7 separate regions of the Homo sapiens genome follow, and all the other regions are linked to region 3. Evidence: promoter capture Hi-C in 16 types of primary human blood cells and fetal thymus (Javierre and others, 2016). All regions are on one chromosome and are shown on one strand. The core of a region is centred on a gene start or on the middle of the fragment in contact, and the rest is flanking DNA. Distances in the headings are between cores, read along the strand shown.

Evidence for each region. Contacts are between HindIII fragments. The CHiCAGO score rates a contact against its expected background, and 5 or more counts as called.
Region 1: a fragment that was not itself captured here is called in contact with the fragment with the promoter of COX11 in region 3 in 8 of 17 cell types (total CD8 T cells, fetal thymus, non-activated CD4 T cells and 5 more); the score reaches 9.1 in total CD8 T cells.
Region 2: a contact is called between a fragment that was not itself captured here and the fragment with the promoter of COX11 in region 3, in 4 of 17 cell types (activated CD4 T cells, fetal thymus, erythroblasts and 1 more). The highest score is 6.3, in activated CD4 T cells.
Region 4: a fragment that was not itself captured here is called in contact with the fragment with the promoter of COX11 in region 3 in 3 of 17 cell types (total CD4 T cells, activated CD4 T cells and total CD8 T cells); the score reaches 7.2 in total CD4 T cells.
Region 5: a fragment that was not itself captured here is called in contact with the fragment with the promoter of COX11 in region 3 in 10 of 17 cell types (total CD4 T cells, naive CD8 T cells, activated CD4 T cells and 7 more); the score reaches 10.5 in total CD4 T cells.
Region 6: a fragment that was not itself captured here is called in contact with the fragment with the promoter of COX11 in region 3 in 1 of 17 cell types (activated CD4 T cells); the score reaches 6.9 in activated CD4 T cells.
Region 7: a contact is called between a fragment that was not itself captured here and the fragment with the promoter of COX11 in region 3, in 9 of 17 cell types (total CD4 T cells, total B cells, naive CD4 T cells and 6 more). The highest score is 10.0, in total CD4 T cells.

The regions. Positions count from the first base shown.
Region 1 is chr17:55,364,985-55,368,435 of GRCh38, reverse strand. No RefSeq gene overlaps it. Among named protein-coding and RNA genes, the nearest start is that of MMD, 55 kb to the left of the region's middle. The HindIII fragment of the contact is 1,827 bases long and covers 928-2,754 here.
Region 2 is chr17:55,340,182-55,343,804 of GRCh38, reverse strand. No RefSeq gene overlaps it. Among named protein-coding and RNA genes, the nearest start is that of HLF, 77 kb to the right of the region's middle. RefSeq lists a silencer at 2,086-2,305. The HindIII fragment of the contact is 2,130 bases long and covers 263-2,392 here.
Region 3 is chr17:54,966,234-54,969,938 of GRCh38, reverse strand. COX11 (cytochrome c oxidase copper chaperone COX11) reads left to right here and starts at 1,285. Exons shown (of 4, transcript NM_004375.5): 1 at 1,285-1,658. The coding sequence starts at 1,293. It overlaps STXBP4 (syntaxin binding protein 4), which reads right to left and starts at 1,174. Exons shown (of 18, transcript NM_178509.6): 1 at 1,124-1,174. RefSeq lists enhancers at 857-906, 987-1,086, 317-1,265, 1,267-1,346, 1,357-1,416 and 1 more. The HindIII fragment of the contact is 10,915 bases long and covers 1,025-3,705 here.
Region 4 is chr17:55,307,994-55,311,157 of GRCh38, reverse strand. All of the region lies in intron 2 of HLF (HLF transcription factor, PAR bZIP family member), which reads right to left. Among named protein-coding and RNA genes, the nearest start is that of HLF, 45 kb to the right of the region's middle. The HindIII fragment of the contact is 1,022 bases long and covers 948-1,969 here.
Region 5 is chr17:55,405,587-55,408,985 of GRCh38, reverse strand. MMD (monocyte to macrophage differentiation associated) reads left to right here. Exons shown (of 7, transcript NM_012329.3): 4 at 1,166-1,240. Among named protein-coding and RNA genes, the nearest start is that of MMD, 15 kb to the left of the region's middle. The HindIII fragment of the contact is 648 bases long and covers 990-1,637 here.
Region 6 is chr17:55,448,924-55,452,145 of GRCh38, reverse strand. It overlaps SMIM36 (small integral membrane protein 36), which reads left to right. Exons shown (of 5, transcript NM_001395421.2): 5 at 1,848-2,290. Among named protein-coding and RNA genes, the nearest start is that of MMD, 29 kb to the right of the region's middle. The HindIII fragment of the contact is 7,338 bases long and covers 1-3,222 here.
Region 7 is chr17:55,290,598-55,294,249 of GRCh38, reverse strand. The region is part of intron 2 of HLF (HLF transcription factor, PAR bZIP family member); the gene reads right to left. Among named protein-coding and RNA genes, the nearest start is that of HLF, 27 kb to the right of the region's middle. The HindIII fragment of the contact is 3,456 bases long and covers 49-3,504 here.

The DNA.
Region 1 (3,451 bases), core at 592-3,091, 400 kb before region 3:
CCACCCACCTTGGCCTCCCAAAATGCTGGGAGTATAGGCGTAAGCCACCGTGGCTGGCCAGAAAACTTTTAAGTATGTTTGGAGCAACCTGGATAAGTACATCAACTCTGTCAGTTATGAAATCTAAAGACAAATCATTTCAGTGAAAGTATAACATCTGAATTGAGGTGGGCTGTAAGTGAAGAAATATACCCCAGATTTCAAACATCTGGCATGAAATATTAATGATTTTTGTATTCGTTACAGGTTGAAATAATATTTTTGATACATTGGGTTCAATAATATACATTTTAATGTTAATTTGACATTTCTTTTTACTTTTTAAGTTTTCTAGTAGCCACATAATATTACATATTTGGTCCACATTATATTTCTATTAAATATTACATATGTGGTCCACATTATATTTCTCCCTTATTTGGGAGAACAGTGAAGGAGTTTATGTAGGACAGAGACATGATCCAATTTTCATTTCAGAGAGAACGTTCTGGTAGGAAAGAGGATAGATTGGTGCGATCTAAGGCTAGAGAAAGGAACGCTAGTTGGGAAATGATTGTAATAGTTTAGGCATAAGATAATGAGGGCCTGCCTTAAAACAGGAGCTTTAGGAATGGGATAATTAGAGAAAGATAAGGACAATTAGAGCATGCATCAGATTCCCTGGAGGGCTTAAGATGCAGATTCCCTGGCCTCACCCCCAGAGAGTCTGATTTAGGAGAAATCGGGTGGGGTCCTAAACATTTTCATTACTAACTAGTTTCCAGACACTGCCGCTGCTGGTGGTAGTTTGGATACCTCACCCTGAAAACCTTTCCTTATAATACTTGGTGACAAATCGGATATATCAAGAGAGGGAGAAGTCTATGAAGACTTCCAGGTTCCTGCTCTGACTATCTGAGTAGACAGGGACTAAAAAGAGGAGAAGCTTATTTGGGAAAGAGTAGGATAGGTTTAGTTTGGGATATATTGAGTTTGAGGTCCCTTTGGAACTCCTAGGAGGCGATCTCTCAAGAGTAATTGTATATCTATGGATCTGGAACTCAGGAAACAGATCACACTATAATTAAAGATTTGAAAGTCATCAGAATTTAGTTGGCCCTAAGCATGAGAGAGATTGCCCAGAGAATCAGTGCAGTATGAGAAGGAAACAAACCCCAGGACAGATTCCTGTAGTGAAGCTCTGTTTTGATCAAAATCATTAGTGTTCAAGAAAAAGAAGATAGGCATGAATTTCCACTTGTCGTTTTTACCCATCTGCCTCTTGTGTTTGATCACAGTGACCAAGGTTTAGGTAACAGTTTCATAGGGCTTCAAGATCCTTCAGAAGATTTGAATCAATGGTTAGCTGTTTCATCAATGATACAGAAGAAGTTCAACAAAGCCTTTATTTCTAAATTTGATTATGAATAAAATAGGCTTGACCAAATAGCAGAAACCCCAGAGCTTCAATTTCTTCATCTATAAAATTGGAACACTGATACCTTTCTCACAGACTTGCTGGAAAATGGTGATAATGTATGTGGAGCATGGTGCCTGATCTACCCAGAATAGCATCTCAATAAAGGTAATTATCATTATTGCTATGAGACCAGCTTCCAGGTGAGTCTACTTCCCTAATTAAACCTTATGGGATAGGGGCCAAAGAAAGACTCCATTCACATGAAATTCCACCCCATGCAAAAGAGTGATTTAAAGCACTGAAAATAGCAATAATAATTTCAGTACTATTGTAATAGTAATTTTATAATTCAGAGGGGGAGAAACCCAATTACTGAGGACAATGTGTATTGTCCATTGTTTCACTGTGTTTTTGTAGCAATGGAAGGAGAAGGAAAATAGCCTTCCTATATGCTAGACAGGCTGGATATATTATTTCATTAAATTTACAATATAATATCTTTAAAATAAGGTCACAGTGAATGGCTCCAAGTGTTTCCTGGGATGAGCTGGGTCTCTTTGATCTCAAGAAATGCCATTGCTAAAGCAGTCAAAAGCTGGGTCATTGCAAGTGGCTTGTTGTCATGTATTCAGAGCAGCAGATGGCCAGCCACAGTTCTGATTCAATTGATGAGCACAGCCAGACCTGGGTAGACAAGCACAATCTTTCTTTTGTTCATTTAAGCCATTTTCTCTCTCACCCTCTTCTGTTCTCATTTTCTTTGGGAGCCTCAGTACTTTCTTTGATTTGCCTGCTGTTTTTTCCCGAACAAAACCCTTCTCCACCTGAGACAGAAAGTCTTCCTCACATTACCTTTAATCTGAATATCACTTTCAGCATCTTAACCAGAGAGGCTTATCAAGTACAGCTGCTTTGATTTAGATGTGGTCTGGAAAGAAGAATAAATTGAATTTGTGGGACATGCCTGACATCTCTCCTAGTCCTCCTGTACTTTTCTTTCCAGAGAATTCACCCTTCCCCAGATCCTGGTGTGCTAATGAAATAGACATTTTGTTTGTTTGTTTCTGCGAGGCACAAAAGGAGGCCCAAATGTATTTATTAATGGTTTGTTTTCAAGGTGGGCTGAACAGAATCGAAGCCACAAATTCCACCAACGAGGGCCCAAGACGTATAAAAGAACAAAGGAAACCATTAAAAATGCCAAAAATAAAATCAGAGGCCCATGAGAGTCTCTGTAGCTATTTTATTAAGGAGTTGAAGGAGATTATTTTATATACATATAAATGTATCTCGTTAACAAATGTTATATTATTTACCAAATGACCAGGTATGCTGTGCTGTTTTTGAAAAAAGCTTATCTAACTAAGCCTGTTCCATACCTCCTTCCTAACCTCTACCACTCGGCCACGGAGAACCTACCAAGTGATCAGCAAACTCACCTTTATCTGTAAACACTTCTCTAAATATTACCTATACCTCCAGGCCTTAGTTGAAATCCAAGCTAATTGTGTGCCCTCTGTTATGGTCTGAATGTTTGTTTTCCCCCCGAATTCATATGTTGATATCCTAACCCCCAAGGAAAGATAGTTGTTTTTGTTTTTGCTTTTGTTCTTTTGAGATGTAGTCTCGCTCTATCACCCAGGCTGGAGTGCACTGATGCAGTCTTGCTCACTGCAACCTCCCCTTCCCAGGTTCAAGTGATTCTCCTGCCTCAGCCTCCCGAGTAGGTGGGAATACAGGTGCACACCACTGTGTCCAGCCAATTTTTGTATTTTTAGTAGAGACCAGGTTTCACCATATTGGCCAGGCTGGTCTCAAACTCCTGACTTCATGATCTACCCTCGTAGGCCTCCCAAAGTGTTGGGATTACAGGAGTGAGCCGCCACACCTGGCTGGAAAGATAGTATTAAGAGCTGGAGCCTTTGGAAGGTGATTAGATCATGAGAGCAGAGCCTTCATGCATGGGATGAGGATACTTACAACAGAGGCCTGAGGAGCTTGTCTGTCCTTTCTACCACCTGAGGACCCAGCAAGACAGTGCCATCTATGAGG
Region 2 (3,623 bases), core at 78-2,577, 370 kb before region 3:
TTAAAATAAGATGTCCAAAATACAATGATGGAGAAACACAGGGCATTTGAGGAACAGAATACCTGGAAATGTTTGTAACTTCTCCTCCTCACATGAAAGTCACAAACTGCTGAAAAGAGAGGAGTTTTTAAGAGTTTCCTTGCAAGTTTAAAAAGTAGAGGGCGCTTTCCCTCTCAGTCAATCTGAAGGCCCAGGCTCCCACCGAACTCCTTTCTCCACGACCCTCCAGCCATGGCCTCTCTCCTTGTGCTGCTAGCAAGCTTGTTGAACTTAAGTGGGAATGGGCCTCTTCCTTTCTGGATATAACCCCGAGTATGTATTCCTCAGACCTCCTCCTTCTGGGATGAGAAGCCCCACACCTTCTATTAGCCCTGGAGTCCTACCAACATTCCTTTTCCTGCCCTTGTTGGGGGGACTCTCTTGGGCCCCTTTCGCATCCAGCACTCCTGGAGTGGACTCAGGAATGCTGATGAATGCATTATTATCACACAGGCATGCTATTCTTGCTTGAGTGTCAATTTGAGCAGTTTCCAGTGAACTTATGGCTCTGCAGAAAGCATTGTTAAATGGGAAATTTATTTAAAAAAAGAAAAGCAAGAATATTTATATGGCACATGGCAGGCCAGAGAGGCAGATGCTATAGAGGTCTGGGTTCTAGTCCTGGTTTCCTTACATGTGCCCTGGGTCCAAGCCTTTCCATGTGTTGCTACCCCGTAGTCCTGGCTACCATCACCTCTGCCTTCACTTAACTTCCATGTATACCTCATCATAATTTATTCTCCATATGGCAGCCAGAGGGATCTTTTTAAAATGTAAATCAGAGCATGCCACTCCCCTGCTAAAAATTTTCAAATAGTTTTGCTGCACTTAGGATGAAATCCAAACTCCTCGACTAATCCTGTAATACCTTCCATATTCCGACGTCTGCCTACCTCTCTAGCCCTATCCTGAACCCCTCTCCTCACTGTCTAAGCTCTCTGACCTTCTGTCTGTCCCTTCATCACAGGAATGTCATTTCTGCCTCAGGACTTTTGCATCTGCAGTTTTTGTTGACTGAACTATATTCCCCCAAGACCTAGGCATGGCTCCTTCCTCTTACAAGTCAGGGCTTAGTTTCAAAGATAACTGTTTTTTCTTCTTTTTAAAGAGGTCTTTTCTGATCATTTCATCTAGAGCTTCCCCACTTACTCCATCACAGCTTTTTTATTCTGCTTTCTTTTACTCTTTTCATGGTATTTATTTATTGTAATTTGAAATTATTTTGTTAGTTTGTTACATGCCTTCCCTGTTCCCCTCATCGACTGTCCCAATCACTAGAGCATCTAGAATAGGGTGTAAGCATAACAGATCATCAATAAGTTGTTGAATGATCAAGTGAGTAAGTATGCTAAAGGTCATTTAATATACCTGAGCCCCAAATTCTTTAGCAATAAAATGGGGAAGAAGGTCTGCTTAGCTACATATTGGATCTTTTTTTTTTGGAGACGGAGTCTCGCTCTGTCGCCTAGGCTGGAGTGCAGTGGTGCAATCTCGGCTCACTGCAAGCTCTGCCTCCCGGTTTCACGCCATTCTCCTGCCTCAGCCTCCCGAGTAGCTGGGACTACAGGCGCCCACCATCACGCCCAGCTAATTTTTTGTATTTTTAGTAGAGATGGGGTTTCACCATGTTAGCCAGGATGGTCTTGATCTCCTGACCTCGTGATCCACCCACCTCGGCCTCCCAAAATGCTGGGATTACAGGCGTGAGCCACCACGCCCGGCCTACATATTGGATCTTTAATCATTGTTAGAAAACTCTCTGTGGTAGATATTGGTGTTATAGCCGCAGAAGAAATGGAAAGCCAGATGGGCTAAATAATTGCCTAAAATCATAGTTGTGGCCTGAAAGTTTATCCTCATTAAGATGCCTATAAAGATTTGGGAGAGAGAAGCAGGGGAGAGAAATTTTCTATGTTCTTCCAAGTTTTAAATCTCCCCAAAAAGCCACTCATTGGAGAATGGAGTCATATACTATCTATCTAGTACTCCCGGCAGCAAGGTCTGTGGCTAGAACTCTATTCCCACACAGAATTCTTCTGCATCTGATTCATTCTGAGCACACCCACCACATTCAGTCATTCATTTGCTTGTATAGGTTGGTGCAAAAGTAATCGCGGTTTTTGCTATTACTTTCAAAGGCAAAAACCACAATTACTTTCGCACCAACCTAATACATCAATTCATTGCATACATGCTGTTAGCAGCCAGTCACTATTGTAGCTTCAGGGAGGAACCCCCTGATTCATAATAAGGGTATGTCCCTGGAATCCCCTAGAAAGGGATAGTCCCCAATGGGGTCTATTGGTCAAACTCGAATTCTTGAGGCTAATTAAGGTAAGGCATTTAAAAAGCTTGTTAGGCCAGGTGAGGTGGCTCACGCTTGTAATCTCAGCACTTTGGGAGGCCACGGTGGGCAGATTACTTGAGGCCAGGAGTTCGAGACCAGTCTGGCCGACATTGCAAAACCCTGTCTCTACTAAAAATACAAAAATTAGCCAGAGGAGGTGGCACAGGCTTGTAATCCCAGCTACTCAGGAGGCTGAGGCAGGAGAATTACCTGAACTCGGGAGGTGGGGCTTGCAGTGAGCTGAGATCGTGCCACTGCACTCCAGCCTGGGTGACAGAGCGAGACTCTGTCTCAAAAAAAAAAAAAAAAATGAACAAATAAATAAAATGCTTGTTACCCAGGGTTCTGGCATGGAGTAGGCACTCAGAGATGTTAGTGATAATGATGTTAGAACATGGACCTTTTTCCTCAGCCAGGCTGTCTAGAAGAGGAGAAAGATTTAAAATGCCCTTGGCAATTTTTCCCTCTCAGAGTCATCCTGTTAGAGAAATCCAGCTCACATGATTCCCATTGCCTTTTCCGAAATCCACAGCCTGTACAAGCAACTGAAAGTAATAAGCATAATTTAAATGCTGTGTCTTTCCTAATTAAAATCCATCCAGAAAGGGATGCCAGGGTTATTTTTGTCTATGTGGCAGAGGAAGTTTTATTATATAAACCCAGCCTTTTCAACAGTCCAAGAGGAGGTGTGTCCGTGTGTGCATGTGTGTGTCCCTGTGTGTGCACGCATGCACCCATATGCATGTAGCAAGAGTTTGGGGGTGCAACCAGGAATGCATAGTTGGCACTGAACAGGTTGAAGGGTCTGAATTTTCAAAGGAAGCTGTTGATGGAACCACTGGCAATTGCTTCCCAAGGCATCTTAGGCTGGTGAAGAACCCTGGAGTCTGCCTTGGCCCTCCTTGCTAGTTCTAAAGAAACATGCTGGGATGGCTTTTCCATGAGGGGATGTTGACCTAGCTCTCTCAGCAGAGGCTCCGCATGCTTGGTGGCTCTTCTTGGAAACACTGGTTGCCAGAGCAGCTGTGTCAGCCTGGTTCTCCAGAAAAGACGGGAAAGCAGGCAAGGAGCCCTCTGCTAACCCAAGGGCCTCTTTCCAGGGCACAACTCCCAAGAGCAATCCACACAGGAAACTCAGTCCAGATAGAAAAGAGATGACAATGGAAAAACAAGGAGGAAAAGAAGAGAAGGAAGGAAAACGAAGAAGGGCAAGGAGATTTAAAAGGCTTAATTAAGA
Region 3 (3,705 bases), core at 36-2,535:
ACATTGTCTTCACTGCACTGATTGTTATCTGAAATTCCCTTATTTCGGTAACTGTTACTTGATTATTTTCTGAGTCCCTCAGCAGAAAGGACACTCCATCACTGAAGTGATCTCCCGACTTGTTCTGTGCTATAGTGCCAGCAGGTCGATTGGTGTCAGGCCCACAGTTGAGAGGGCAATAAATAAATAAAATGTCGAATGACTAGTTAAAATTTCTCAGGCCTCCAAGTTCCTCATCCACATAGTGGGGATAATTATACCTGCTCTGGCCATTAGAAATGGCCACGTAGCAAGTAGAAATACAGCCTAACTTTTAACTACATTCTTACTATGCCTCAGTCATCATGAAAGACGTTATATGAATATTATTCATTTACTGTTCTGATTTCCATTTTACAAGTAAGGACACCAGGTCTTAGAGGACAAGTAACTGACCTAAGGGCACAGGGCCATGGTGAGGACCCGGGTAAAAATCCAGAACCCCCTAACCTCAGAACCTGAGCTCTTAACTGCTATTTTATAGTTTCTAGAAAGATGCTTCCTTCTAACACAGTAAAATCCGCTATGCTGTCTGCCCCCCTCGAGTTCGTCCTGTGGGACAACTGAAGAAAGCTATTACATCCTCCCACGGGGTTCGTTTCTTTCAGTCTCTCCTTAAATGGCCCTCCTATCCTGGTCACTCTCTCCAGAACAAACTTCAGCGTGACAGCCTCCCTCCTGCTCCAGCTGTGGTGCTTTCCACTGGGCAAGTTGTAAGGGGCATCAGAGCAGGGGAAGCCGACTGCCCACGGGCTGAGAAAATGCAGGTGTCGTGGGTGCCCATGAGGGCTGCGGTTAACACAGCAAGGCTTCCTGAGAGAGGTGATACTTGAACTAAGTCCAGGGCAGTGAGCACAGGAGCCAGCGGCCAAGGGACCCCAGGAGAAAAGACCGCGGGAGAGCGTCGCCGGGGCTGCCGGGTCGAGACAAAGGCTGGTGGAGTTTAAATAAAGATCACAGGCGCAACCCCAAGTGATGGCAAGCTTGCACGCGGACGGGCGAAACGCATTTTCCTAAATGTTAAGAGACGTTCTGGCGAGAAGCGAAGTGGGAGTAACAGTCACAAAGCAAAACGCAAACTTACCCGTAATCTGGCAACCCGGCCTCCGTAGCCCGACTGCAAGCGCTGCCACCTGAGGAGCCTGGTAGCCAAGGCAGCGGCAGGCTCAACCCAGATCTCGCGAGACGGAGCACGCCTCGCGAGATTTGACCTCTCGTCCCTGAGAGGCGGGTGGGTGTTAGTTCAGAGGGTTATGGGAGGGCTCTGGCGTCCTGGATGGAGGTGCGTTCCTTTCTGTGGCTGGCGCTGGATCCACCCTGGGTCTCCAACCAGGGCTGCAGAGAGGGTAGAGCCGTTTCTTAGGCCAGAGTGGAGTGGGACAGGAGGTGCCGAGAGAGGACTGAGGTGGCTTGGGACATGGAAGCGCTGCAGCCTTCGAGCCCGGCATCCAGCATTGCAGCCGCCGCGGCGGCCTAAGAGCTCGAACCCTTTCACACGCGCGCAGGAGGAGGAGCGGCGGCGGCAGAACAAGACGACCCTCACTTACGTGGCCGCTGTCGCCGTGGGCATGCTGGGGGCGTCCTACGCTGCCGTACCCCTTTATCGGCTCTATTGCCAGGTAGGGGCCGGCGCCGCCCGCAGGGTGGCGCAGACGCGAGAGGTGGGGGTGCAAGACAAATCCCGGGACAAGCCCTCGCTCTGCGGGTCGTAGGTGGAAGAGGTTTCCGATATTATCTACCTAAGAGGAGAGAGGTTCAAAACAGTCACTTAACACCCAAAGTCACCAAAGAAATTGGTGACAAAACTGCAAGTAGCATCCAGTTCTTAGTGATTGTGCTTATACCATGCTGCAGAGTGAAACCCCTGATCTATGAACTGCACCTCGCCAAAAAAAAAAAAAAAGGTCCGCAGCCTCTAACCGGGTATCTAGCAGTCTGCCTTACCCTCCTGCGCACACACGCTTTTAAAATGTATTATTCATACATTCACTCTGCAAACCACATGTGGTTTATGTGCCAAGGGTAACTCTGGAAATTGGACTACTCGTGTTTCTTGGGCTTAAACTGGGATTAGCAGTTCCTCCGTACAAAGAGGCATGAATTAGGCCTTTGAGGCTCTCTCGCCCCACCCCTGTTAATATATAACTGTAATGTACTTAACCTGGAAACTGTTAAGTACATTGCAACGGTTCTGGGAGTGTGGCGCCCAGGACCGGCAGCATCAGCATCACCCGGGAACCTGTTAAAAGTGCAAATTCTAGGGCCCGACTCCAGGACTGAGTCAGAAACACGGGGTGGGGGGGTGGGGCGGGGAGAAGAAGGGGAGTGGGACCAGCACTCTATATTTTAGTTAAGTCCTGTAGTTGATTTTGAGGGCAAGTTTTGAGAACCACAGGCAAAGACAAGTTTCACGTATTTTAGAGATTTCTCCTTTGTTCTTAGCTAATAATTTGCAGCTTTGGCTGGCCATTAGGATCACCTATGGAGCTTAACGTTAAATACACGTTCCAGGGATCCCCTACCCCAGAGATTCTGGTTAGGAAGTCTAGGGTAGGGACAGGAATTTCGGTTTAAAAATCATGCCACAAGTGATTCAGTAAGTGTTTAAGATAGTGGCTCCCAAAATTCATTGTACAGCAACATTGGGAATCACCTGGACAGCTTCTAAAAATCCACACACATTACCCATTTTATCACAAGGCCACAGTGGGAACCAGGCATCAGTAATTGTCAAGTATGTTTTAGGTGATTCCAGCGTGCAGGAAAGTTTGGGAATTGTTTTTTTAACACCATGACTGGTATTCTTAGCTGGAGTTCACTCTTTCCGTGTGTGTGTGTGTGTGTGTGTGTGTGTGTGCGCGCGCGCGCACGTTTATTTATTTAAATTTGTAGAGACGAGGTCTCCCTATGTTGCTCAGGCTGGTCTCAACTCCTGGGCTCAAGTGACCCTCCTGCCTTGGCCTCCCAAAGTGCTGGGATTACAGGCGTGAGCCACCATGCCCGTGGAAATCAATTTACCTTTCTTTTAGATGATGAAGCAGAAGACAAAAGGACTTTTCTTTTCTGGCATAGTCTCCTAATGCCAGCATTTATGTGGGAATGTGCAATAGTTGATTTTGAGGATGAGTATAGAATGTGAATTACTTTTCATCAGAGACCAAGCCCAAGCATGAATTCTAAAACTACCAGTTGGTTAAATCATAAGCAGAACTGAATCCAAATCAGCAAATCTAGATCCTTCTCAGACCGCCAGGAGATTTTTGCCCCTCAGGGAACATTTAGCGATGTGTGAAGACATTTTTGGTTGTCACAACATGGAGGTGGGGGTATAGGGTGCTACTGGCATCTAATAGGTAGAGGCTAGGAATGCTACTAAATAACCAACAAAGCACTGCCTCACCCCCAAACAACAAAAAATTATTCAGCCCAAAATGTCCATAGTTCTAAGATTGAGAAACCCTGCCCCAAACTGAAATAACTGATAATATTGCGTGTGAAATGTGCCCACATGCAATCATAGATCAGGAAGCCAAATGTAATTTGTAATCTATCAGGTTCTTAGAGCTAGTAGCACAACTAGAATAGAGACCAGGACATCTTTTTAGTGCTGTTTTCTAGTCTTTTTGTCTATTTTACTTTAGGCATTGAACTTAGAAATTTGAACCC
Region 4 (3,164 bases), core at 209-2,708, 340 kb before region 3:
TTTTATACATATACTCTTCTAGGTAAACTTCAGAATACATTAGTTAAGTTATATTTAAAGTTACCGTTTTAAATATAATAATATTTGGCATTTTTGAATTACAATTTCACAGGTAAATTTGAGGACAACTATCTTTAAAATATTGAATACACCCACAGTATGCTCTCCATTTTTATTTTTTGTGGGCTTTTTTAAAAACATGTATCAGTTTAGTTTTATAGTTTTCTTTATTTTAGCCTTTCACATTTCAGTTTATTCCTTAAATGTATTATAAGAGTTGTTACTAGGGTATATTACCCTATTATATTTCCTAAGCGGTTACTGCTGCTATATAGGAAGCTACTGGTTTTAAAAGTTACTGGTTTATATCCAGCCACTTTACTTTCTTATTAGTTCTAATAGTTCTAACAGTTCTAACATCTCTTAGTTTTTAGGTGAACAATCTCATCTTCTGCCTCTATAGACAGAGGTGGCATCCTTTCTATGTTTATAATTCCTACTTTCTTTTTAATAATTTTCAGTCTCACTGCATTAGCCGGTTTCTGCAAGACAATGAGAAGAAAGAGAGACTGAGACTAATGATCACTGCTTGTCCCAGACTTTAAAGGAATATGCTTTTAATTCTTCAGATCCTTCAATATAAAGGCTTGTTCTAGTATCTTAGTAGATACAACTTGACAAAGTAAGGCAGTTCCAATTCTTCCAACCTTGTTTTACTAATAATTTTTAAAACCAGAAATAATGTATTAAGTTCTCTTAAATGCCTTTTGATATTTATTTATTGAGATAATCATGCCATTTTTTCTCCTGTATTTGTTAAGTCTGAGCTTGGTATTTCCAAAGCTTTATTTAAAAGATCCATAGTGGACAAGATCAACCCCATCATGTAGCCTCTGCAGTTACTGGAACATTGTTTTTCGTTTTTTTTGTTTTTCTTTCTAAAAGCTTCTTGCTGAAAGTCACTTCCAGAAGAACCAAGGAGGGTTTCTGGAGGAAAGGGTGGAACAAAGGGCTTAAAGAAATCTGGAAAAAGAATAGAAGTTACCTTCAAACCCAAAGTTGGCCTCTACTTTTGTCACAGATTAGGCAAGGCTAAACCTCCAAATAGTATAACTGGAAACAGGATATTTCATATTCTTTCGTATTTTAGCAAGAATTTAGCAGCTTGTGTTCAATTAGCTCATTAGCAAGCAGCCATCAATGAAGGGGAACAGCAGCACTCTGTCTTTATCTCTTCTCTAGTCAGTGGTTTATGTTTTAAATTGATGTCTGCATCAAAGTCACAAATTATAGTGTTACTTATTATTTCATCCTAAAGGCTAATTGCAACACCTCCAATCTTTCTGATGTGCTCCTCATTCAGGCAGTTAATAAAGCAGGAGATTTGCAGCAGTAACGTCAAAACACAGTAGTCTAATGTTGATCACTGATGAGCATTAGCCAGCTGATAACATTATCCTCTATCAATTAAGGCTGAGGAAAGAGAAGACAATTTTTATTTTGGCCAAAGGGTTTCCTTTAGAGCTGATGAGTGAAACTCCTAGTGATTCAAAGTTTGGTGCCGAATCTTTCCCTCCTGCTCACCTCTGCCCTCCTCCTCATCACCAGTTTAGGGTCTGTTCACTTGTCATGACTTCCTGGATCCCACGTAGCCATAATCTGAAATAGTGCTTTTACCCTCTTGGCATCCCTCGATGATGATACCATCATCAGGGATTACAGCTGACTTTGCTACAAACCATGCCTGCCTCTGAAAATCCTTTTACATTCAGGGAGCCAATCAACTTAGGAGATGATAGCAACACTATAAGGTCAACGAAGAGTGCTCACGATATATACAAAGATTAAATTAAAACCTCACAAATACAGCCTAAGGATATGGGCTTTCGGGACTCAGGCCATATTAGCTGGTCTCCATTCCCGCAGCAGGAATCTGTTATTTGTCCAACAAGTCCTTTCTGCAAAAGCTTAACACTAACGTCCTGATGGCCAAAGGCTCATTCCTAACCCATTCATGTCCTATTCCATGGGACCTGCACTTCCAGGCAGAGCCTATTTCCCTACCTCTTGCATCTGGGCTGGTCTCTGACTTGCACTGGCCAACAGAATGTGGCAGAAATGATAGTGTTAGTTCTGAGGCTGGGCCTAAAGAGGCTTTGCATGTTTCTGCCCCTTTTCTGTAGCACTTCTGTCATTACCATAAACATGCCCAGTCTAGCCTGCTGGAAAATGAAAGAAGAGGCCAGCCTAGGTCAGCTTAAATCACCTGAACTCTAGATATGTGAGTCCGGCCAAGATCAGCAGAGCCACCTGAGCAACCCATAGCAATTACAGATGAGTGAACAATAAGCCTTTATTTGTGTACGGTGAGTTTCTGTGATTGTCTGGTAAACATTCTCATTGCAATGGAGACTGACCTATAAGCTGAGTTATTGCATAGGGGGAGAGTGTTTACACCCACAATAACATTATAGCAGGATTTAAATTTGTACAGGACAGTCGTTTTACGCTGTGAAGTGAGTCAGACCTGGGTCTGAATGCTGATTCTGTCACCTGTATGTTATAAACTTGGGCCTTTGTAAATAAATGACCCCCAAAAAATGCCCCTCTAAATCCTAATAAGGTCTGTATTGGGGAAAGGGACTATCGTTGACTTTTTCCCCCTTCTTTTCTTAACCTACCTGAGTTTCAATTCCCTTATGTGTAAAAGGAGATTACTATGCCTGATTCTATGTGAAAAATGAACTAGATAATACATACAAAGTGCTTAGCACAATCTGTAGTACCCGGAAAGTGTGCAATAAATGGTCTCTATATAAACACATATACAAAATACAGATAATAGTTCAGAGATACTTGAAAGTAAATCAAATAAACAGACTATTCCCCTTGTCTAAGCCAGCACTGTCTGTCCTCTGAACTACTGCAACTTTTAACCATTATCCCTTTTCTATCTCCCACGTCTCCACAGCGGTACACTGTGATAATTCTAAACATGCAGACCCGTGTGGGTCACATCTCCATATCAAACCCTCCCAAGGCTTCCCATTGCCACATATGATCAGATCCACGGCTCTACCTCACTCACACACTTGGCCACACTGGCCTTCCTTCTGCTCCTTGCGTCCCCTGAATGTGATCCCACCCAGGCCTTTGTATTTAGT
Region 5 (3,399 bases), core at 64-2,563, 440 kb before region 3:
TCTGTTGCCCAGACTGTAGTGCAGTGGTGCGATCTCAGCTCACTGCCACCTCCGCCTCCTGGGTTCAAGTGATTCTTGTGCTTCAGCCATCCGAGTAGCTTGGACTACAGGCGTGCGCCACCACACCTGGCTAATTTTTGTATTTTTAGTAGAGACAGTGTTTCACTGTGTTGGCCAGGCTGGTCTCAAATTCCTGACCTCAAGTGATCCACCTGCCTCAGCCTCCCAAAGTGCTGTGATTATTGCTGTGAGCCACCATGCCCAGGCTTTATGGGGTATGTTTTTTCACTTACTCACACAAGTCTTTATTATTTGCTTTGGTCAATGTTACGTGTAGGGGGAGGAAAGTCTAATACTAGCGTTCCCTCAAATTATAGTTATACCTACTTGGACACTGAAAATAGATTCAAGATGATATTACAAATTTGTACTTTTAAATTACCTCAGTAAAGGGCAAATTCCATCTAATCCATTTTATGAATAGACCTCAGTGAACCAAACTCTTTGTACATATACCTCTGACTTTTCAGTTTTGGAAGGAGGAACTTGCTTAGAAATACAGGTGGCTATGCTTTTGTAGTAAATGTGCCATTTTTTGTTTTTGTTACTGTTTTTCCTAAGTTAGTTTCTGAATTTCCTTTATTACTATTTACTGTCCACACCAGGATATTTGAAGTAAAAACTGTAAATACCTTCTAAAAAGACACAAAGAATGTGATTTCAGCTCAGGGAGTGTTTACTGAACATCAGGACTTTGCCCTGCACTGATAGGAGCTGGGGCAGGTTGCGGGGAGGTGGTCTGCCCTCCAGGAACTTCATTTTTCTGTTAGAGGGGATCCAAAAGAAATGGAAAACATCAGAAAAAGACAGATTTTGTTTGTTTGCTTTAACCACTTCAGGCTTTCTAACTATCATGGGGCCCTGTCCCTATGTCTTATATATGCTGAGAGAATCTATTGTATGTGCAACCTAAAAAATAACAGAAAGCTTTTACTCGTGACTTCATAACATTAACAGCAACAAAAATCTGTGTAACCTTGGAAGAACAAGTGTAAAGGCCATGAGAACTAGAACAAGAATGGAAATTGCAACATAGTGGAGTGATAACCCGTACTTCCCATCTGAACACTTTCTGACAAATTTACTTTTTTTTCCCCCTCGCTAGGACAGTGGAGCATTGTTTTCACATGTGTGATAGAATGGTTATCTATTTCTTCATTGCTGCTTCTTATGCTCCATGGTAAGATACAGTCTTCCTATTTTCGAAGGTAGTGATTTTATGATTAGAATTCCTCACTCCTCCTTTCCTTTCTCCCTCTTGTCCCCACCCTCAGCCCTCATGTGTACACCACCTTCCCTCCTCCTGAACACATACATGCATGCATTTTTTTCCCCATTTGATGTACTTGGGTCAGATTGCATATTTGAAGGGGAGAATATTGCTGCTGTTTATAATATCTGGGTATTGGATTGTTCAAGAAGTGCTATGAACTTGTGTGCAGATAGCTTGCTCACTCTTGAAATCTGTAACCTTTGCTCTCCATATTGTTTCCCTATACCTCTGCTATTGTTCAGAACACTAGAAAATTGAATTATTCAAGTGGAAATGCTGTAAATATGTATGAGGAAAGCAAGCTTATTTATTTATTTATTTATTTATTTATTTATTTATTTATTTATTTATTTTGAGATGGAGTCTCACAATCTCGGCTCACTGCAACCTCTGCCTCCCGAGTTTAAGAGATTCTCCTGCCTCAGCCTCCTGAGTAACTGGGATTACAGGCACGTGCTACCATGCCTGGCTAATTTTTGTATTTTTAGTAGAGACGGGGTTTCACCATGTTGGCCAGGCTGGTCAGGAACTCCTGACCTCAAGTGATCTGCCCACCTTGATCTCCCAAAGTGCTGGGATTACAGGCGTGAGCCACCGTGCCCGGCCTATTTTTTTATTTTTTGAGACAGGGTCTCACTCTGTCTCCCAGGCTGGAATGCAGTGGCGTGATCTCAGCTCACTACAATCTCTGCCTCCTGGGTTCAAGTGATTCTCACACCTCATTCTCCCAAGTAGCTGGGACTACAGACATGTGCCACCACACCCAGCTAATTTTTGTATTTTTGGGGGGAGACGGGATTTCACTGTGTTGGCCATGCAGCTCACTGCAACCTCCACCTCTCAGATTCAAGTGATTCTCCCACCTCTTTCTCCCAAGTAGCTGGGACTACAGGCGTGTGCCACCACACCGAGCTAATTTTTGTATTTTTTGGTGGAGATAGGGTTTCACCATGTTGTCGATACCAGGTTGGTATCGAACTCCGACCCCAAGTGATCTGCCCGCCTCTGCCTCCCAAAGTGTTGGGATTACAGTCATGAGCCACCATGCTTGGCCATTTTTGTTTGTTTGTTTGTTTGTTTGTTTTGAGACAGAGTCTCACTATGTTGCCCAGGCTGGAGTACAGTGGCAGTGGCCCGTGGTCTCAGCTCATGCAACCTCCACCTCCCAGGTTCAAGCGATTCTCCTGCCTCAGCCTCTCGAGTAGCTGGGATTATAGGTGCCTGCCACCACATCTGGCTTCTTTGTTTGTTGGTTTTTTGAGACAGAGTCTCACTCTGTCACCAAGCCTGGGGTACAGAGGTGTGATCTCAGCTCACTGCAACCTCTGCCTCCCAGTTTCAAGTGATTCTCCTGTCTCAGCCTTTGAGTAGCTGGGGCTACAGGCATGTGCCACCATGCCTGGCTAGTTTTTCTATTTTTAGTAGAGACGAGGTTTCGCCATGTTACCCAGGCTGGTCTCAAACTCCTGACCTCAAGTGATCTGCCCACCTCAGCCTCCCAAAGTGCTGGGATTACAGGCGTGAGCCACCGCACCCAGCCTGTTTTTGAAACTTAAGCCATTTGTCTTCAATTCACCTCAAGTGCAGTAGCTACTATATAGCAAGTGTGTTTATCATTTCTTTTGCTGAGTAAGAGAACCATTTAAAATACCTAGTATCCTGTTCATTGCCTTTGATCTTTCTGCCTTTTTGGTGCTGATCAAATATAATCTTTTGTTGCTTTGAAACTCTTAATTAAAGAAACATTAGCTTTCTTCTACAAGACATAATCCAGTTTTAAAAACTCAGAAGCTTATATTTTGCAATCATCTATTGTAGTCATTAGAAACAGTATGCCTCTAGATTCTGACTAATGCAGCATCAATGATTCAAAAGAAACCTGATTATCTGAAGGAGTAAAAAGTAAGTGCTATCTTTGCCCAGCATCTGACTAAATTATAGGTCGGCTTCATGTTGGAAGAAGAACACTGAAAGGCTTTTATGAATGGACATTAAATGCCCAGAACAATGCTTATTTCAGTAGGAACCTACAGGGTGTTCCAAACAGGATTCCTTACTTAGTTATT
Region 6 (3,222 bases), core at 295-2,794, 480 kb before region 3:
AGGCTTATTAAAAGTGTTTCCTTTTTTTTTTTTTTTTTTTTTTGTAGAGATTGAGTCTTATGCTGTCACCCAGGCTGGAGTACAGTGGCCCAATCATAGCTTACTGCAGCCTCAAACTCCTGGGCTCAAGTGATCCTCCCTCCTCAGCCTCCCAAGTTGCTGAGGGCACCCACCACCTTGCCTGTCTAATTTTTAAAATCTTTTTATTTTTTGTGGCGACAAGGTCTCACTATGCTGCCCAGACTGGTCTCGAACTCCTGGCCTCAAGTGGTCCTCCTGCCTTGGCCTCCCAAAATGCTAGGATTACAGGCATCAGCCCCTGCATACAGTCTAAATTTAGTTTTCTTTAGAATTTTTCAGAGACTTTGATATGCATTGTTCAGGAGGAAAGAAAGAGTCTTAAATCTTTTGTGCAGGAAATATATAGTAAATTCCTTAGGTAGCCCAGTTTAGGAAAACTGGTAAATTCATTCATTCAACAGATATTTATTAAGTACCTACACTGTCAGGCACTGTGCCAGGTACAAAGAGGGTGTATCTTTCTCAAGAATTTTCATAGCATTTTTAATCTAGTGACAAGAGAAGACACTCAACAAATAAACAAGACTGTTTCAGCCTGTGATAAGAAACATATGGAGGAAACAGCCACTTCAAAGCCTCTGTGGGGAGCTATGTGAGCTGGAACTTGAAGATAAAACATAAGTCAGCCACAGGAAGAGCCATGGGGAAAGTATTCCAGGCAGACAAGAGCAAGTGCAAAGACACAAAGACAAGAAAGATCTTGGCCTGCTTCAAGGGCAACCCAAGGTCAGCCAGCTGGAGGTGCTGAAGGAGGGTGATGGATGGAGACACTGGTAGAAAATGAGGTTGGAGAAGGTGCGAGTATTGGATCATATAGGGTCCTGTTATGCCACCATCTGGAATTAGGGTCTTAGTCTATGGATGATAAGAAGCCATTAGGGGCTGGGCACAGTGGCTCACACCTGTAATCCCAGCACTTTGGGAGGCTGAGGAGAGCGGATTATGAGGTCAGGAGTTCGAGACCAGCCTGACCAACATGGTGAAACCCCATATCTACTAAAAATACAAAAATTAGCCAGGCGTGGTGGCGCATGCCTGTAATTCCAGCTACTCAAGAGGCTGAGGCAGGAGAATTGCTTGAACTCGGGAGGCGGAGGTTGCAGTGAGCCATGATCGTGCCACTGCACTTCAGCCTCGGTGACAGAGCGAGACTCCGTCTCAAAAAAAAAAGAAGCCACTATGGATCTTTAAGCAGAGAGTTGCTGGCAAAGGAGATGGAAAGAAGTGGGCAGATTAGAGATGTCTTCTTGGAGGTAAAGTTGGTGGACTCTCCAGTGTTACTGTGTAGACTCACGGGTGCCTAAACCTGTTGTCTACGCTCTGCCAGTATTGCCTTGTGCTTGTGAGCCTCTGTCTCCTAACTCAGCTGCAAGTTCCCTCTCTCTAGGCTGTAAGCAGAAAGCAAGGAGTACTATCTGGGTATTGCACCCGGGTTCCACGTCTGGGCTCACACTCAGCAACTGTGTAAATGTGGGCAAGTCGCTTCACTTCTCTGAGCCTCCACCATGTTCTCTGTGAAATGAAACCAAAGGAGACTAAGTGATCTACTTGCAACACTGTGAGATCCATGTTCTATGCTTCTGATGGCAGCAGAACTAGATAGAAAAGAATAAGGAATTTGCCCCACACCCCTTGAGAGAAAGCAACGAGGAAATGTAAAAGGTCAAAGATTAGATATGCTGTTAGTTTTCACTTGACTGCTGTAACAATTTAGCACACAATGAGTGTCTTAAAACAACAGAAATTTTTTTTCTTTCATATTCTAGAAGCCAGGAGTATGAAATCAAGGTGTCAGAGGGGCTGTACTCCCTCCGAAGGCTGCAGGAGAAAATCTATTGCTTGCCTCTTCTACCTTTTGGTGGTTCCAGGAGTTCCTTGGCTTGTGATCACATCACTGAAATCTTAACCTACCTGGTCATACTGCTGCCTCTTCTTCTCTCTCAAAACTTCTCCTGCCTCTCTTCATACTTGTGATTGCATTTAGGGTCCATCTGGGTACTCCAGGAAAAACTCCTACTGTCAAGATTTAACTTAATCATATCTTATGTCATATAAAGTCATGTTCAATATTTTACAACATAAAATAATAGTCACAGTTTCTGGAGATAAGGACATGGGCGTGTCTTTTGGGGGATCATCCTTCAATCCATTGCATCTATCTATCAGTGATCACCCCAACCCAAATAAACCCGCATAATATTTTCAGGTATCCATTTTTCCTTTTTCCAGGGTCCCTATTCCATGACTTTTGTTTCTTTCATTTCTCCTTCATAGTGCTCAATATTGGGCTTTGCACAGAGTAGACGGTTACTCAATGAGTGCTGCTCCCAAAAGAAACTTCCAGAAACCCTTTAGTAAGAGTATCCTGGGCCAGGCGCAGTGCCTCACTCCTGTAATCCCAGCATTTTGGGAGACCAAGGCGGGCAGGTCACTTGATGTCAGGAGTTCCAGGCCAGCCTAGCCAACATGGCGAAACCCCCTCTCTACTAAAGATACAAAAAAATGAGCTGGGCGTGGCAGCATGATTCTGTAGTCCCAGCTATTTGGGAGGCCGAAGCACGAGAATCACTTGAACTGGGGAGGTGGAGGTTGCAGTGAGCCTAGATTGCGCCACTGCACTCCAGCCTGGGCGTCAGAGCAAGACTCTGTCATAAAATAATAAAAATAATTTTAAAAAAGAGTATCCTATCCATTTCCCTTAAAACTCGAAGTTTGGAAAATCAGCTTTACACCAGTTGATCTGTAAGGCACAAAAGAACATACTTAGCTAGATGTAAAGTGATCAAGATTTTAGTCCCTACTCTAAACCAACTTGTTTATGACCCTGGATAGACAGGTCCCTCCAGCTGTCTAGACATTTGCTTTCTAAAGAGAGGGACTTACTACAGTTGGCTTCCCCAGAAGCCCTTATACCACTTACATTCCACAAGAATTCAAGAATAAATATGGTCTTTCTCAGGATCCTTTGAAATACATTATTTCCTTTAAGTTACAGAAGAAAAACACAACCTTTTGCCCTATCCTACTGCATATTGGCATGAAGTAGCTGCCCTAGAAGAAGAAAAGGATGAAGTGAGGTAAAACATCTTCATTTTCCAGTCCTGATGGCCCAGATCTGAACACTTGGGGCTTTTGCAATAA
Region 7 (3,652 bases), core at 527-3,026, 320 kb before region 3:
TTGCACTGGGGCAGATCAGCATAGTGTGGGCACAAGGAGAATGAAGCTTTGACTGATATGGACTGTGCCGTGGGTTTAGCACCAGCACCCTCAGGGACACAGCCACACTGTTTCCAATCCTCCTCTACTAGGCTGTCTCTAAATCTTCCTGGACTGATGTGTTTATCACTTCATGGTGCTTCTCTTTTAAGACCGTTATCAGAAGGAACTGTGGCTTAGAAAGTCATCCCTCATGACTTAAAAGTAAAACCTGTGTTAAAAACTACCCTCTCTGTGTCCTTTAAAATTAAATTCCCTAGGAATTGGCTGAGGAGACCTTAGGGCCTCCCCAGAGGTGCATATGTTGCTCCTTTCCTCCTCACTCCCTCCACATCTAGGTCCCTGGTACATATCTGTCACCGTGTTGTACCATCCACACAGGTGTTCTGATGATTTTAGACATTCTACTACCTTCCACAAGGCAAAGCCTTCTACTGAGAAGCAGCCCATTGAGTTGGGGCTCCATGAATGGGCTTTGGTGCCAGACTGTGGCTTCATGTTCCAGCCCTGCCACCTATTAATCGCCCCCAGCACCATTTTGCTCACTTTCTCTGGGCCTCAGTTTTCTCATCTGTAAAACGACAATAATAATAGTATACCTACCAAGTACTAACAGTCGTTCCCAGAGATTGAGTTTTAATGATATAACACATATAAACCTCAGTCCAGTGCCCAGACTATAAGAAGCACTAAAGAAGGGTTAGCTATTATGACAACATTCCTTTTCTACCCATCCGTTTGATAGGAGCTCTGTAGTCAGAGAAAACTTGGTGCTTAGCTGACTGCCCGGTTCTCAGGACTTCACCAGCCAGCAGATAAAGGGGGAAGCTCTGCCTTCTCTCCTCAGAGCACAGTGGCGATCGGCCGTTGCCCAGTCCAGCTGCCACATGTAATGGTCGTTCCACCGGCATCCCCTATAACTCCTCAGGCACATATAGCACCTCAAATCTTAATTAAAAAAATGTATATATTAATATAGTACATGGGATATTTTGATACATGCATATAATGTGTAATGATCAAATCAGAGTAACTGGGATCATTGATCATTTCTTTGTGAAGGGACCATTTCAAATCTTCTATGTATTCTGAAATATACAATAAATCCTTGTTAACTATAGTCACCCTACTGTAGCTATTGAACACTTGAACTTATTTCGTCTGTGTTTTTGTACCTCTTAACTAACCTCTCTAAATCCCACATCCCAGCCCCCGCTAACCTTCCCAGCCTCTGGTAACCATCATTCTACTGTCTACCTCCATGAGATCAACCTTTTTAGCTCCCAATTTGAATAAGAACATACAATATTTGTCTTCCTGTGAATGGCTTATTTCACTTAACATAAATGACCTCCAATTCCATCTATGTTGCTGCAAGTGATAGAATTTCATTCTTTTTTATGGTGGAATAGTATTCCATTGTGTATGTATGCCATATTTTCTTTGTCCATTCACCCACTGATGGACACTTAGGTTGATTCCATTCCTTGGCTACTGTGAATAGTGCTGCAATAAACATGGAATGCCGGTATCTCTTTGAAAGACTGATTTCTATTCCTTTGGATATAAAGGCATACCTCACAGATATTGCAGGACCGGTTCTAGACCACTGCAATAAAGCTAAGAATCCAATAAAGCAAGTCACATCATTTTTTTTTTGGTTTCCCAGTGCATATAAAATTTATGTTTATGCTATACTGTAATCTATTAAGTGTGTAATACCATTATGACTAAAAACAATGTACATGCCTTAAGAATACTATATTGCTAAACAATGGTAAAGATCACCTGAGCCTTTAGTGGGCCATTTTTACTTATGATGGGTCTTGCCTTAATGTTGGTGGCTACTAATCGATCAGGGTGGTGTTTGCTGAAGGTTGGGGTGGTTGTGGCAGTTTCTTAAAATAACACGACAATGAAGTTTGCTGCATCAATTGACTCTTCCTTTCAGGAAACATTTTTCTGTAGCACGCGGTGTTATTTGATAGCATTTTACTCACAGTAGAACCTCTTTCAAAATTGGAGTCGATCCTCTCAAACCCTGCCACTGCTATACCAACTAAGTTTATGTAATATTCTAAATCCTTTGCTGGCATTTCAACAATGTTCACAGCATCATCACTAGGAGTAGATTCCATCTCAGGAAAGCACTTCCTTTGTTCATCTGCAAGAAACAATTCCTCATCCATTCAAGTTTTATCATGAGATTGCAGCAATTCAGTCACATCTTCAAGTTCTACTTCTAATTCTAGATCTCTTGCTATTTCCGCCACATCTAAAGTTATTTCCTCCACTGAAACCTTGAAGTCCTCAAAGTCATCCACTATAAGGGTTGCAATCAACTCCTACTAACTTCAGTTTATGTTGGAGTTAATTAATGTCCCTTCCCATGAATCATGAATGTTTTTAACGGCTTCTAGAGTGGTGAATCCTTTCAGAAGGCTTTTGATTTACTTTGCCTAGATCTATCAAAGGAATCACTATCAATGGCAGCTATTGTCTTAAAAAGTAAATTTCTTAAGTAATGAGATTTGACAGTCAAAATTATTCCTTGATCCATAGGCTGAAGAATAAATGTGTTAGCAGGCATGAAAATAACATTAATCTTCTTGTACATCTCCATCAGAGTTTTTGGATAACAGGTACACTGCCAATAAGCAGTAATATTTTGAAAGGATTTTTTTTCCTGAGCAGTAGGTCTTAACAGTGGGCTCAAAATATTCAGCAAACCATGCTGTAAACAGATGTGCTGTTATCCAGGCTTTGCTGTTCCATTTACAGAGCACAGGAAGAGTAGATTTAGTATAATTCTCAAAGACCCTAGGATTTTTGGAACAGTGAATGAGCACTGGCTTCAACTTAAAGTCACCCACTACATTGCCCACTAACAAAAGTCAGCCTGTCCTTCGATGCCAGGCATGGATTTATCTCCAGCTATAACTTTTACATGGTGTCTTCTTCCAATATAAGGCTGTGTAGTCTATATTGAAACTCTGTTGTTTAGTATAGCCACCTTCATCAATGATCTTAGCTAGATCTTTTGGAAAATTTGCTGCAGTGTCTACATCATTTCTTGGTGCTTCACCTTGCACCTTTTTGTTATAGAGATGGCTTCTTTCCTTAAACCTCATGAACCAACCTCTGCTAGCTCAAACCTTTCTTCTGTAGCTTCCTTACCTCTCTCAGCCTTCACAGAATTGAAGAGAGTTAGGCCCTGGCTCTGGATTAGGCTTTGGCTTAAGGGAATGTTGTGGATGGTTTAATCTTCTATCCAGGACACTCAAACTTTCTTCATATCAGCAATACGGCTGTTTCACTTTCTAATCATTTGTGTGTTCACTGGAGTAGTGCTTTGAATTTCCTTCAAGAACTTTTCCTTTGCATTCACAATGCAGCTAACTGTTTGGCTCAAGAAGCCTAGCTTTTGGCCTGTCTTGGCTTTCGACCTACCTTCAAAATTAAGCTTACTCATTTCTAGCTTTTGACTTAAAGTGAGAGACCTGCGACTCTTCTGTTCACTTGAGTGCTTAGAGGCCATTATAGGGTTATTAATTGGCCTACTTTCAATATTGTTGTGTCTCAGGGAACAGGAATCCCAAGGAGAGGGAGAGAA